2 separate regions of the Homo sapiens genome follow, and region 2 is linked to region 1. Evidence: promoter capture Hi-C in 16 types of primary human blood cells and fetal thymus (Javierre and others, 2016). All regions are on one chromosome and are shown on one strand. The core of a region is centred on a gene start or on the middle of the fragment in contact, and the rest is flanking DNA. Distances in the headings are between cores, read along the strand shown.

The links. The method cuts DNA at HindIII sites, captures the fragments that hold promoters and counts their contacts. A CHiCAGO score of 5 or more calls a contact.
Region 2: a contact is called between a fragment that was not itself captured here and the fragment with the promoter of CD99 in region 1, in 1 of 17 cell types (fetal thymus). The highest score is 5.9, in fetal thymus.

The regions. Positions count from the first base shown.
Region 1 is chrX:2,687,930-2,695,499 of GRCh38, reverse strand. CD99 (CD99 molecule (Xg blood group)) reads right to left here and starts at 4,205. Exons shown (of 10, transcript NM_002414.5): 1 at 4,073-4,205. The coding sequence starts at 4,139. The HindIII fragment of the contact is 9,076 bases long and covers 1-7,570 here.
Region 2 is chrX:370,909-378,478 of GRCh38, reverse strand. All of the region lies in intron 1 of PPP2R3B (protein phosphatase 2 regulatory subunit B''beta), which reads left to right. Among named protein-coding and RNA genes, the nearest start is that of PPP2R3B, 12 kb to the left of the region's middle. RefSeq lists an enhancer at 2,439-3,329 and a silencer at 5,324-5,506. The HindIII fragment of the contact is 1,936 bases long and covers 3,246-5,181 here.

The DNA of each region.
Region 1 (7,570 bases), core at 2,956-5,455:
GTGGAGGCTGTAGTGAGCCCTGATTGCACCCCTGCACTCCAGTCTGGGCAACAGAGACCCCACCTCAAAAAAATATTTTTCAGCCTGGTCAACATAGTGAAACCCCTTCTCTACTAAACATACAAAAATTAGCCAGATATGCAGTGCATGCCTGTAGTCCCAGCTAATTGGGAGGCTGAGGCAGGAGAACTGCTTGAACCTGAGATGGAGAGATTGCCATGAGCTGAGATCGTGCCACTTCACTCCAGCCTGGACAACAGAGGAAAATTCCATCTCAAAAAAAAAAGACTTTTCCTCCTTCGCACCCCGAGAGACACACAGGTCTTATTTCTTACTGTGTCTATAAATCACAAAGGACACGTAATTCTTTTCCCCTAAAGTAACAAGAGTGCTCAGAACATTTTCAGCAGGACTGAAAACCAGCACAAGGTCCACGTGGCTACTGAGAAGTCTATTTCCCCGGGGGAAGATATCTGAGTCCGAAAACATTCCAGACAGTATCCATGAAATCCCGCCATGATTCCTAAATGCTGAATTGGGAAAAGTATTGTATGAGCTGCATTTCTTTCTAAATGACAGCATGTACCCACCATAGGACCTTCAGGAAGAAAAATGATTTCCAGACAAACAATCATTTACTTGAGTATCTCCAAAGTGTAAAGACATGTATTTGTCTTTACATGAAAACTCTGTCTCATACACAGAGAAAGGAGAAAGAGCTAAAGCAGGAAGTTTTTTTTTTTCTTTGAGACTGAGTCTCTCTCTGTTACCCAGGCCATAATGCGGTGACACGATCTCAGCTCACTGCAACCTCTGCTTCCCGGGCTGAAGTGATTTTCCTGCCTCAGCCTCCTGAGTAGCTGGGATTATAGGCGCTCACCACCACGCCCGGCTAATTTTTGTATTTTTAGTAGAGTCGGGGTTTTGCCATGTTGGCCAGGCTGGTCTCGAACTCTTGGCCTCATGTGACCCACCGGCCCTCGGCCTCTCAAAGTGCTGGGATTTACAGGCCTGAGTCACCGTGCTCGGCCTAAAGTAGGGAGTTAAATGCAAAGCAATCAACTTTTACCAGAGCCAAACGCGCTGATGGAAAATCAAGGCAAACTCGCTGGATGATAAAACCCACTTCCTCTGCCCAGAAACATTCTCCTAATAACTTCCACACACACCCACAGGGGCAGGAGACAAGAGCTCTGGAGAGAGTTAAAAAAAAAAAAAAACAACGAAGCCCACACTTGCTCTACTGGGGCGAGGGAATCCTGAAGAGGCCTGGTATTGTTCAAGAGATGTCGGTTCCGTAGATGTTTGGAGTTTTTCAAACCGCACAGGCCGCTGTGCCGTTGCCCCGGGGGGTGGGGCAAATCAGCCTTTGCCAGAGAGCAGGGATGCATCGGATGTGTGCGACTCTACTGTCGGGACGGCAGGCTCCTAACTGCAGGGGCAGCCCTGAATCAGCGCATACATGCAACTCCCAAGCCCTCCTCAGGGTTTTCCACCCTCAACACCACTGGCATTTGGGACCAGATGAATTCTTTGTGCTGGAGGCCGTCCTGGCCCTTGAAAGATTCTGAGCAGCTTCCCTAAGCTGCCCCACCCATTGCAGGATGGTGGGATGTCCCACCCCAGGGTGGCAACCAAAAATGTCTGCAACCATCACAAAGTGTCTCCTCGGGGCCAACGTCGCCCTGTGGGGACATCCTGCTCTCTACAAAGCTGAAGCCTCCTCTTTTCCTCTATACACCTCCCTCTGTCCATCCATCCCTCACCACATCCCACCTGTACCCCTGAGAATTTATGAAGGAACCAAGGAACACAGGGTCCCCAACACTCTGAGATCAGGCCAGAGCTATCAGCACCAGTCTGAGAACCTACTTCAGGCTCAACGGGGTTTTGCAGCCTGATGCACGTTGCTATAAGAAAGTGTGTTCTGAGCATCACCAACTCAAAAGTCAACTTTCCCGATGAAACGTGTATTAATATTATTGGGACAGGCTGTTTCTGTCTCCATCTCTAGCAGGGTCAGACTGCAAAGAAGGGGTGAGAAGCGTCCCTCAAGGAGATCCATCAGTGCTGACGGCCAGGCCCTCCTCTGCAATTGGAAGGATAGGTTGGCCCCTGTTATGCCCCTATCCCACTGCTCTTCCCTACCCACCCACCCCATAGACAGGTACTCTTCCCTTTACTCAAAGCATCAGCAGCTGGAGTTCCTAAGCCCAGTCTGCTTCCAAAATCAGGAGTTCCAGATGAACACTGCTGTGGGTTTAAAAACTGTGCAACGCCAATGAGCCGACATCGTGCCACTACACTCCAGACTGGTGACAGAGTGAAACTCCGTCCAAAAAAAAAAAACCACCACCACCAACAAAAACAAAAAAACTGTGCAACGACTTGTTTGGGGCTTAGAGAATATAAGGCTTTCCACTCACTCTGCTCCAATGACCTGGAACGCCAGACCAGCCGGCAAATCTGTCCCTAGGGCTTCAAAATCCAGCCAAGCCCCTCACCAAGATTTACCACTGGGAACCCCTGAGTTATTTCGTGATGGAACTATAAAGGTCCCTGTGGCCCTGTCTCCCGTCTGCCTGTTCAGATGCCTCTGTTCTCCAGGAAACTGAATTCTTAGGCCACCAGCACTCCCTTGGATATATTTCCCTGACCCCAAGCCCACAGTAGGTGCAAAAGAAGGAAGGCAGGCATGAAGGATGAAGGAATGCATTCGCAGAGAGACAAGTGAAAAACCCGTTCATCTGCAGGTGCCTGGGGAACAAATGCAGCTGATAAAACCCTACAGAGCCATCCCGTCCGTGGTGACAGGTTGCCCGCAAGAAGGACATTTAGGAAGAAAAGGGAGAAACAGGAAGCTCTGCTTGGAACCTCCCCTGCAGGCTGGAAAGTCCTCCAAGTTTTCCTCTACGGAGCAGGCTTCATTATCTCTAATCTCTACCAAGTGAAAGCACAATTTCTAGGATACCCGGGACCCCTTTAAAGAGGGTGTAAATCCATTAGCAACTCCTCCCTAAAAATAGAGACCCGGCCTAGTCACCGCAGCTCTAGGCTGAGCTAGATCCTATCAACACAAATCGGGCCTCCTCCGTCCTCCCCAGGGCCGGGCGTTCCCGCGTCTCCTTCCTAAATACGTCCAGCCCTGATAAGGCCCGTCCTGAAGTCCACACTGCCCGCAAGCCGGTCTACTTAAAAGCCTGCCCATACGAAGAGCAAAAAATGCACTGACCATTGAAAAAAGAATTTATAACATGAAAAAAGAATTTATAACATACCACATCCGGCAGGGTCTCCGTTTCCGTTTCAAAGGGAGGGAAACAGAAAAACATGATTAAAGTAATAATTAGAAATAGGCCCGGTTTAGGGCGTGGGAGGGTGACCGTGGCTCTTTCTTCCCTGCCCACTTTTTCTGTTTTCCGAATTCTCCACCGCCGCAGATGGACAATTTGGTAAGCACACGTTTCTTTCTGCGCCCCGTGTTGCTTGGCGCACAGCACGCGCTGAAATTCCCGGAGCCCGCATCCACAGAGTATTTTTGAACATTTTCAGGGCTCAAAGTTTTTTTCTAACTTTTCCTTCCCTTCCCCCCACCACCCGGGTCTCAGGCTCCTAGCGATTCCAAATTTAGGCCCGGGACGCAGGGCGTGGCTGTGACAGGCAACTCCAGGGCGGCCTCCGCGCGCGGCCTGAAGACGCAGGTCCCCAAACCCTGGGGGTAGATAACGGGGTGGGGTGAGGGGCTCATGCAAAGGGAGAGAGATCTGTAAGAAGGTCCCCTAGATTGGGAAAAATCGGACGCACCTCTCCCAAGGCCGCCCCACATGTAAGAGTTTGCAACTCCGACAACAAACGCTGACTTTTCTCTCTGGAACGGCTCCAGGAAAAGCGTTGGGGAGAAAGTGGGCGCCTCCTCCGGGCCTGGGCCCCCGTGGGCACAGCGCGTCCTGCCGGGCAGGGAGGAGGCTCCGGGTGTCCCCGCGGGGCGCCCCCAACGCCGCATCTCAAGCGGATCCCCAGTCCCGGCCCGCGCCCTCCGCGTCCCCCAACCCGGATCCCTCCGCTCGCTCACCCGGGGCGGCGACCAGAACACCCAGCAGGCCGAAGAGCAGCAGCGCCAGCGCAGCCCCGCGGGCCATGGTGCGCCCAGAGCGCGCAGGGACGGTCCCGGAGTGCAGGGCGTGGGCGAAGGCGGCAGGACAGATACTCCCCCACGGGCCGGGTGGGGCGAAGCCCGGGGACTCGAAGGGGGCGGGTGAGGGGAGCGGCCCTGCAAGCTCAGCGCCGGCTGCGCCCGCCCCGCCCCGGCCTCCACGCGCGCACAGAAGGGGCGGGAACGCCGGGCCCGGGGAGGAGACAGAGGGGGTAGGCGGGCGGGGGTGGCCCAGGCAGCGCCGAGGGGAGTACGGTACACGCCCCGCCCCTTCTCAGGAAACTGCCCACGCCCCCTCACCCACCCACAGGGCCGTAGCCAGGGCGGCGCCGACCCGAAGCAAAGTGAACTACAACGTTCTCGGGAAAGTGCGGGTCCCTCCCGGTTTACAGCCCTCTGAATGCACGCCCGAGGGCGGCCCTTAACTGTAGTGGCACAAAACTGCCGCCCTTCTTGGAAACATAGAGCCCCCTCTCCCCACTCGCCCCTGCAGCCACTTCTCCGCCCCTCACCCCCTGGTCTCCAGTGGGAGCAAAAAAACAAACTTTCCCAGCAGCTCCCCTGCTCGGGAAAGTGCGGGTCCCTCCCTGTCTACAGCCTCCTAAATGCACGCCTGCAACTGTAGCGACACGAAACTGCCGCCCTTCTTGGAAACGTGTAGCCCCCCTCCCCACTCGCCCCTGCAGCCCCTTCTCCGCCCCTAGCAGGGACCCTCCCCTGCTCTGCAGTGGGAGCAGAGGAAACTCCCGGCTCCCCTGCTGGGAAAAGTATGGGGGCCCCTCCCCGCTGCTCACCTCAGGGAGTTCCCCAAGGGGAGCAAAGTGCAATCCTCTCCCTGCTCAGGAAGCCTAGGCCCCCGCTCCACAGGCAACCCCCGTCCCAAGTCCTTTCTAGAGCGTCCGAGCGCGGGGTGCGCAGCCGGGAGGGTGGCGGACGAACCCTTTGCGCCGGACCAAGGACAACCCTTGGAGTAGCCTCTGCGCTGGGGCAGTTTCTCCCCAGAATCCCCAGGACAAGGTTGGGAGTGGGGACTCCTGGTCACGGGAGTTAGTGAGGGGCAATAGGGAACGAGGTGCCTTCTATCTGGGGCACCTGGGCCCTAGTCCTGGTCATGGGCGACTCGCCTTCCAGTGGGCTTTGAGTTTAGACACCCTCCCGCGCCACTGGCCACAGCTGCAGTGCAGTTGTCGCCCTTCCCACACTTAACAATGTTATCTGTTAACACCTAAGCCTAAAATTGTATCCATTTTCCCGCAGGGTAGTGGAACAACTTTGCAGCCTGACAAATAACCCTGAATATTCTTGCATTCCACACTTCAAACTGTCCACGAAAAGAGTCAAACTAGGCCGGGCGCGGTGGCTCACGCCTGGAATCCCAGCGCTTTGGGAGACCGAGGCGGGTGGATCACCTGAGGTCAGGAATTGGAGACCAGCCTGACCAACAAGGTGAAACCCTGTCTCTTCTAAAATACAAAATTAGACGCGTGTGGTGGTGTGCACCTGTAGTCCCAGCTACTCAGGAGGCCGAGGCAAGAGAATCGCTTGAACCGGGGAGATGGAGGTTGCAGTGAGCCAAGATCAGGCCACTGCACTCCAGCCTGGGTGACAGAGCGAGACTCCGTCTCAAAAAAAAAGAAAGAAAAAAGAAAAAAAGAGAAAGGAGTCCAACTCTAACATATTTGAAGAGATTTATTCTGAGCCAAATATGAGTGACCATGGCCCATGACACAGCCCTCAGGAGGTCCCGAGAACGTGTCCTCAAGGTGGTCGGGGTGCAGCTTGGTGTTATACGTTTTAGGGAGGCATGAGACATCAATGAAATTTAAGAGACACATTGGTTTTGTCCAGAAAGGCGGGACAACCCAAAGCAGGAGGCTTCCAGCTTATAGGTAGATTTTAGAATTTTCTGATTGGCAATTGCTTGGGTTTCTTTAAAGTCCTGGGATCAATAGAAAAGAATGTCTGGGTTAAGATAAAGAATTGTGAAGACTCAAGTTCTTATTTGAACAGGAACCCTTCCGGTGCTAGGGTCAGAGAGAAGAGGTTGTAAAATGTTTCTTCTCAAACTTAAAGGCTGTGTGGATGTTAACGCCGGAGAGGCACCGGGAGGCATGTTCAACCCCTGCTTCCCGTCACGGCTTGAAACACTCTCTCAGGTTAAATTTTTAAAGAGCTCTGGCTGAGGAAGAAGTCCATTCAGATGTTTTGAAGGTGGGGGGCGGTGGGGGCTTAGAATTTTATTTTATTTTATTAATTTATTTAGTTTTTGAGACGGAGTCTTACTCTCTCGGCCAGGCTAGAGTGCTGTGGCACCATCTCAACTAACTGCAACCTCCACCTCCCAGGTTCAAACGATTCTCCTGCCTCAGCCTCCTGAGTAGCTGGGATTACAGGCACCTGCTACCACGCCTGGCTAATTTTTATATTTTTAGTAGAGATGGGGTTTCGCCATGTTGGCCAGGCTAGTCTGGAACTCCTGACCTCAAGTGATCCACCCACTCCAGCCTCTTAAAGAATTTTATTTTTGGTTTACAAAGCCCTGCCTCATCTATTGGCCCATTCCTGGGCTGGCATACTTGCTGCCCAGCCGACTGAGTCAGGGGCTCTGAGATAACACCTGTCTTTTTATTATTGTTATTATTATACTTTAAGTTCTGGGGTACAGGCTGGGCGCGGTGGCTCACGCCTGTAATCCCAGCACTTTGGAAGGCCGAGGCAGGTGGATCACGAGGTCAGGAGATTGAGACCATCCTGGCTAACATGGTGAAACCCCATCTCTACTAAAAATACAAAAAAAAATTAGCCGGGCGTGGTGGCGGGCGCCTGTAGTCCCAGCTACTCAGGAGACTGAGGCAGAAGAATGGCGTGAACCCGGGAGGCAGAGCTTGCAGTGAGCCGAGATCGTGGCACTGCACTCCAGCCTGGGCGACTGAGCAAGACTCCGTCTCAAAAAAAAAAAAAAAAAGTTCTGGGGTACATGTGCAGAACGTGCAGTTTTGTTACATAGGTATACACACGCCATAGTGGTTTGCTGCACCCATCAACCCATCATCTACATTAGGTATTTCTCCTAATGCTCTCTCTCCCATTGCACCCCACCCCCCAACAGGCCCTGGTGTGTGATGTTCCCCTCCCTGTGTCCATGTGTTCTCATTGTTCAACTCCCACTTATAAGTGAGAACATGCGGTGTTTGGTTTTCTGTTCCTGTGATAGTTTGCTGAGAATGATGGTTTCCAGCTTCATCCGTGTCCCTGCAAAGGACATGAACTCATCCTTTTTTATGGCTGCGTATATTCCATGGTGTATATGTGCCACATTTTCTTTATCCAGTCTATTATTGATGGACATTTGGGTTGGTTCCAAGTCTTTGCTATTGTGACTAGTGCTGCAAAAACATACGTGTGCATGTGTCTTTA
Region 2 (7,570 bases), core at 2,964-5,463, 2.3 Mb after region 1:
TCAGAAAAACTTTTTCTCACAAAGGGCAGGTCGCCTTCGTAAGCCTTTCAAATCTGGGATTTCAGAAAAGCCATTATGTTTGCTCATGGAAGACACATTTTTATCCTAAAACAAGCCGTCTGAACAAATGTATGTTTAGTGAGAATGAAAAGTGAAGAGATTTTTATGAAAATTTTGCATAAAGGTCTTCTGGGCATTTTAGGAGCCTTTAGAGGTTGATGGTAAGATTGTGTCCCGACAGCAGAGGGACGGTGGAGATTCGGGTGCCGTGAGGGGCTTCATCGGCCCAGATGGCAATGTTGTCTCTTCAGAGTAGGAATTTGGGGGGAACAGGCTGAAAACAGGCCTCGCAGATTCCGTGCTGGCCTGTGGTGCAAAAACAATGCTATGACGGCCCCGTCCCTGTACACAGTAGTGTATAGACAGCCCTGTGGTGGTCCTGTCAAGTGTGGACGGCCCGTCCCTGTACACAGTAGTGTATAGACAGCCCCATGGCGGCCCCACTGTAGACGGCCCGTCCCTGCATACAGTAGTGTATAGACAGCCCCATGGTGGCCCCACTGGGTGTGGATGGCCCGTCCCTGTACACAGTAGTGTATAGACAGCCCCACGGCGGACCCACTGGGTGTGGACGGCCCGTCCCTGCATACAGTAGTGTATAGACAGCCCCATGGTGGCCCCACTGGGTGTGGACGGCCCGTCCCTGTACACAGTAGTGTATAGACAGCCCCATGGTGGCCCCACTGGGTGTGGACGGCCCGTCCCTGTACACAGTAGTGTATAGACAGCCCCATGGCGGCCCCACTGGGTGTGGACGGCCCGTCCCTGCATACAGTAGTGTATAGACAGCCCCATGGCGGCCCCACTGTAGACGGCCCGTCCCTGTACACAGTAGTGTATAGACAGCCCCATGGTGGCCCCACTGGGTGTGGACGGCCCGTCCCTGTACACAGTAGTGTATAGACAGCCCCATGGCGGCCCCACTGTGGACGGCCCGTCCCTGTACACAGTAGTGTATAGACAGCCCCATGGTGGCCCCACTGGGTGTGGACGGCCCGTCCCTGTACACAGTAGTGTATAGACAGCCCCATGGCGGCCCCACTGTGGACGGCCCGTCCCTGCATACAGTAGTGTATAGACAGCCCCATGGCGGCCCCACTGGGTGTGGACGGCCCGTCCCTGTACACAGTAGTGTATAGACAGCCCCATGGCGGCCCCACTGTGGACGGCCCGTCCCTGCATACAGTAGTGTATAGACAGCCCCATGGTGGCCCCACTGGGTGTGGACGGCCCGTCCCTGTACACAGTAGTGTATAGACAGCCCCATGGCGGCCCCACTGTGGACGGCCCGTCCCTGCATACAGTAGTGTATAGACAGCCCCATGGTGGCCCCACTGGGTGTGGACGGCCCGTCCCTGTACACAGTAGTGTATAGACAGCCCCATGGCGGCCCCACTGGGTGTGGACGGCCCGTCCCTGCATACAGTAGTGTATAGACAGCCCCATGGCGGCCCCACTGGGTGTGGACGGCCCGTCCCTGCATACAGTAGTGTATAGACAGCCCCATGGCGGCCCCACTGGGTGTGGACGGCCCGTCCCTGCATACAGTAGTGTATAGACAGCCCCATGGCGGCCCCACTGTGGACGGCCCGTCCCTGTATACAGTAGTGTATAGACAGCCCCATGGCGGCCCCACTGTGGACGGCCCGTCCCTGTACACAGTAGTGTATAGACAGCCCCATGGTGGCCCCACTGGGTGTGGACGGCCCGTCCCTGTACACAGTAGTGTATAGACAGCCCCATGGTGGCCCCACTGGGTGTGGATGGCCCGTCCCTGCATACAGTAGTGTATAGACAGCCCCATGGCGGCCCCACTGGGTGTGGACGGCCCGTCCCTGCATACAGTAGTGTATAGACAGCCCCATGGCGGCCCCACTGGGTGTGGACGGCCCGTCCCTGCATACAGTAGTGTATAGACAGCCCCATGGCGGCCCCACTGTGGACGGCCCGTCCCTGTACACGGTAGTGGATGGCCCCATGGGGGCTCTGTCGAGTGTGGACAGCCCTGTCCCTCCCCCATCCGGTGTAGACAGCCCTGTGGCTGCACTGGGGGCGGGTGGTGCGGGTTCTGCATCGGGACAGGACGCAAGGGCTCCAGGGGGGCAGTGGGACTGCATCCAGAGGTGGTTCGAGGGCTCCAGGTCAGAGTCTAAATCTCTGCCTATGTGTGCACTTCAGGATTTTGAGGCTGTTTTCCAAAAGTCTTTTTTTTTTTTTTTTCCTTTTTGAGACGAAGTCTCGCTCTTGTCCCCCAGGCTGCAGTGCAGTGGCGCAATCTCGGCTCACTGCAACCTCTGCCTTCTGAGTTCAAGCGATTCTTCTCCCTCAGCCTCCCAAGTAGCTGGGATGACAGGCACCCGCCACCATGCCCAGCTAATTTTGTATTTTTAGTAGAGACAGGGTTTCACCATGTTGGCCTGGCTGGTCTCGAACTCCTGACCTCATGATCTGCCTGCCTTGACCTCCCAAAGTGCTGGGATTACAGGCATGAGCCACTGTGCCTGGCTGTGTTCCAAAAGTCTTGTACGGAAAGAGGAAACCTGGCAGTAAAGTCCACAGGGGTGTGTGTCACCCGCCGTGGCAGGACAGGGCGTGTGTCACCTGGCGTGGCAGGACAGGGCATGTTGCCTGAGTGTGAGGATCGCGCCCGTTGGCTCGCTTCCCCCGCATTTTGGGTTTGATCTTTGACTTTCGGAGGGAGATCACAGGAGGTTGGCTCCCAATCTGGTTCCCCTAGCTGCGTTTGGGAGGCCGTCCGTGTGTAGTGCTGATATGAACTGAAGGGGCGGCACCTCTGCCCTGTGAGTTTGCGCCCCACATCGTGGGTGACTGGGCGGCACCTCTGTCCTGTGAGTTTGCGCCCCGCATCGTGGGTGACGGGACGGCACCTCTGCCCTGTGAGTTTGTGCCCCACATCATGGGTTACTGGGCCGCACCTCTGCCCTGTGAGTTTGCATCCTGCATCGTGGGTGACTGGGCGGCACCTCTGCCCTGTGAGTTTGCATCCTGCATCGTGGGTGACTGGGCAGCACCTCTGCCCTGTGAGTTTGCGCCCCGCATCGTGGGTGACTGGGCGGCACCTCTGCCCTGTGAGTTTGCGCCCCGCATCGTGGGTTACTGGGTGCACTTGTTTAAATCGTCTCCTGGTGGTTTGAGCACATTCCCTCTGGTGCTGTCTTAAAGCTTCCCTTTGGAGACTTACCGGGGGTCAGAGGCCGACTTCTGAATCCTCAAGGACAGTAAGGAAGTGAGAAGGATGGAGGGATCCGAGGATGGCTGGAGAAGGGAAGGAGGTGGAAGAGAAGGAAGTGGAGAGGGGCGTACCCCTAAGAAGAGTTGGAAGGGGCCTTGCGGGTGGGGGGCTGTGGTGGGCGTCAGAGGTGGTGTGGAAGGTTGCAGGAGAAGAAAAGGCCAGTCTGAGATGGCTGCAGACTTCTGGTTCCAAGTCTAGGACACTCGGAAAAAGGAAAACGATGGAGACAGGAAACAGATCGGGGCTTGCGGGGGTTGGGTGCGTCAGTGCCACACAGACGTTTTTCAGGGCAGGGAAACTCCTCTGCGTGACCCCACAGTGGTAGATCCGTGTCATCCTGCGTTTTTCCAGACTCAACAGAGCGTGCGGCAGCGGGAGAGCCCAGTGCACGCTGTTGACTCGGGGTGATAGTGACCCGTCCAAGGAGGTTTATTGACTGTAACAGATGCAGGCGGTCACGCAGGACCTTCCTGATCGGGGACCCGGGAGGCTTTCTGCTGACAGCGTTCAGCCTGGCAGGGATGTGGCCAGTTTCTGACCCTCAGCCCGAAGGTATCCTGTCTCCTTCCCGGTGGGATCGAGGTGCAGGCCCCCGGAATGTCAGCTCACCCTCATTTAAAGTTGCCCGTCCCCCTTTTCCACCGCCCCTCTTTTCTTGTTCTAAATACGATTGCAAACAAGCGCAGTTATCACAGTGAGCAGTGGCAGAGAAGACGAGATCCTGGATGCCCACTGCAGCTTAGCTGTATTCTAGAAACTCCTGAAGTTTGGGGAGGGGCGGAGATGCCGGCGCGCTTTGATGCCGGGCTGCCGGGATGTCTGGGCTGCCGTGCGTGTTTGTGGAGGCGCAGCTGCACCTGGCGTGCCCTGTGCTCTGGAGGGGCAAGCCGGAGTCGGCACCGAGCCTGCAGCCAGCTCTGGTGTTGTCGTGGAGGGGGGGGACCTCACTTCTCGCGGGGAGCGCCTTCGCCTGGGTCCCCGAGGCCGTCCCCAGGCTCTCTTCTCGGGGACCTGTTGATGCGCGTTCCGCCCAGGCTCTCCTCTCGGGGACCTGTTGATGCGCGTTCCGCCCAGGCTCTCCTCTCGGGGACCTGTTGATGCGCGCTCCAGGGCGAGCCACGTGACGGCTGCCGCGGTGCAGAAAGCGCCCCCTTGCCCGGCCGGACGGCCCAGCCCGGAGCGAACGGGGAGAGGAGAGAAGAGGACCGGAGGGAGCGGAGGGCAGTGCAGGGAGCGGAGAAGGAGGAGAGGAGAGCAGCGCCGGGAGCAGCCGGGTCTGCACAGTCGCGGGTCGGGAGAGGCGGCCGCCCCCACCCCCGGCGCCATGCGCCCTCCTCAGCCTGAGGAATGCGCGCGGCGCGGGCCCCGGCCCCAGAGCGCCTGGCGGGCGACGCATGGAGCGCGCTGAGCCCGGGCCACGCCTGCAGCGCCCCGCCGGCCCCGGCCCGGCCCTGCCCCGAGAGCGCGGCGCCCGGCCCGGCCCGCGGAGAGCCCTGCGCGCCGGCGGCATGCGACTCCGCGAGCGCTCGCTGCGCCAGGACCCCGACCTGCGCCAGGAGCTGGCCTCACTGGCCCGCGGCTGCGACTTCGTGCTGCCCTCTCGGTTCAAGAAGCGGCTGAAGGCCTTCCAGCAGGTCAGCCCCGCGCGCCCCGCGGCTGCCCGACACCGGGCGAGGCCTCCCGGCCCGGCGAGCCCTGCCCTCCCGGCCCCGCGTGGGCCCCCGCTCGCCGCTGCTGGCCGTGCACCCGTTGTTGCGTGGCGGGGCCCAAACGCCAGATTTACAGGGCCAGTTGTGGGCGCAGGGGACCCGCTCGGGCCGCACGCCGCCGAAAACCGGGTGCTGCTCTGTGGGAAGCGGTGCCAAGCTTGTTAGGAAAACCGGGCTTTGAAAAGAGCACTCGCTCCTTTCCCGGGAGTTTTGGCTGTGAGTGCGCGCCTTGCTGTGATCAACCAAGGCGGGTGAGAGCCGTCAGCGCCTGGGAGTGTTCGCTGCAGACAGATTTTTAATTTAAATATACCTTGCATTGCTGGTAATAAACATCGGGAAACTCCTTCACCCTTCGTAAAGGCGTCGGGTGGGTGAAACTTTCCCGGCGTTATTGCAATACCCAGCATTCCTTCCCACTGGCTAACTTAAGAGTCGGTTGAGATATCACTCACATACCGGACTATTTATGCAGCGTGGTTTTATTCAGTAACTCAGTGGCTTTGAAATTTATTTATTTATATTTATTTATTTGAGACGAAGCCTCTCTGTTTCCCAGGCTGGAGTGCAGCGGCGCTATCTCGGCTCACTGCAACCTCCACCTCCTGGGTTCAAGTGATTTTCCTGCTTCAGCCTCCCGAGTAGGGCTAATTTTTGCATTTTTAGTAGGGACGGGGTTTCACCATGTTGGCCAGGCTGGTCTTGAACTCCTGACCTCAGGTGATCGCCCACCTGGGCCTTCCAAAGTGCTGGGAGTAGGGGCGTGAGCCTCCACCCCAGCTGGCTTTGAAATTTAATCTCAGTTCTCATAAGTGCTCAGGGAAGTAAAATTTGTGTCTGTACCCCGTGTATATTGTATGAGTTAGTTTTACGAGTACCATGTGATTTAAACGTGTAAGAGTCTTCCTGTGACAATCCCAGTATAATTTGAGAATTTAGGGTTTGGCTGCGGCCGAATCTGATCCGAATTTCATCCAGACAGGGTGTGCGTGGCGGGCGCCTCACACCCACGTGGCACATCAGACGCGCTTTTCAAACTCAGTTCCAGGAGTCTGGAACTAGTGGCCTAACATCAAGGTGAACCAAGGCATCCTGCTTGAAGGGGGAGGAAGACCCACTTCTTTCTGTTGATATTTTAATTGAAATTTTTTCTGTAAGATCTCACATCAACTTTTGCACTCCTTCGGAGTTTTTGACCTCTGTCTTCCAGGTTTTGACATTTTGCCTGTAAGTGGGTAAGGGCGAGGCTGGTGTCTTTAAAATCCTCTTAACCTGCGAAGAGCGAGATCAGCCTCGTGCGGGATTTGCTCTAGATGGTGGGAGGTGCTGGGCGGTGCGGGCTCGCTGGTCGCAGAGTCAATGAGGTGATTAGCTCGCACGTGGCTGGATGAGGAAGCCCTTCAGCCCTGCAGTGGGGCCCTGGCTCTTCTGTGGGGGGCTGTGGTGACGATGCACCTGTGAGGACTGTTTATTTTTAAAAAGTCAGTTTCTGGGAAATCATGAATTCCGTTTACAGAAGTTTGCTTCATTTTACAGAAAATAGGTTTCCACGTTTTTAGGGAGTGAGGACAGACGTGTGAAATGCATGTTGTCTGAGGGGTGGTGGAGGAATTACAGGCATATTTGGGGGTATTTGTGGGGGTGGTGTTGGGGGAGAAGGGGACGTTTCCTGGCTGCTTTCACTCCGCGCATGAGTGTGGGCTCTGTCTGTTGGGTCCACCCCACTTGGACACACCCTCAGGGTTGTCAGGGAGCACCCGTGTTGGAGCCACTGGACGTGTTGGGGTGCCGCACCTCCGCCTTCGGACGCTCCCGGCCGGGCAGCACGGTACTGTTTTCAGGGGTCCTCTGACGGGCACAGCCTTCCACGGCCAACGTTGGCCGCACCCACGAGCCCCTGGCGGGTGCTCCTGAGCTTGATCTTCTGACTGTGCGACGTCCCACCTGGGCTTCTGTTCCCACTAACCCCCTGGCGGGTGCTGCCTGCCCCGATGGTGAACCCAAGCTCCTCCTCCTCCCTGCCACTGCCCACTTCCCTGTCACCGGCATCCTTGACAAACCAAACTCGGGGGGTGGGGGCGTTCAGCGACCGCCGGCCTTGGGAACGGAACAGCATGCGTTCACGCCGTGGGTCCGGGGAGGCTCCCGTGTGACGATGGCGTGTTACACGTACTCTCACCGTGGGTCCGGGGAGGCTCCCGTGTGACGATGGCGTGTTACACGGCTCATGCTCTCACTGTAGGACCCAGCATGTACCTGGAGTGGGGCCGTGCAGCTGCTTGGCTGAGCTCTTCTTGCCGGAGCCACTGCCTGCGCCTCCTGCCCAGGGATTCTCGGGCCTTCTGTCCCCGGGCAACAGCAGGACAGCTCAGACCTTGTTCCCAGCCCAGGACAGCTGTGCTGCCTAGCCTGGCCCTCCCCGCCTGGGGAGTGACTCTCCCGCTCCCCACACACTGACTCAGCACACAGACGCCCCTCTTCACCTGTCCTGGTCACACAGACACTGTCCGGCGTCCCCACGGGGTCCTTCGGGTGGACGCACAGACCCTAC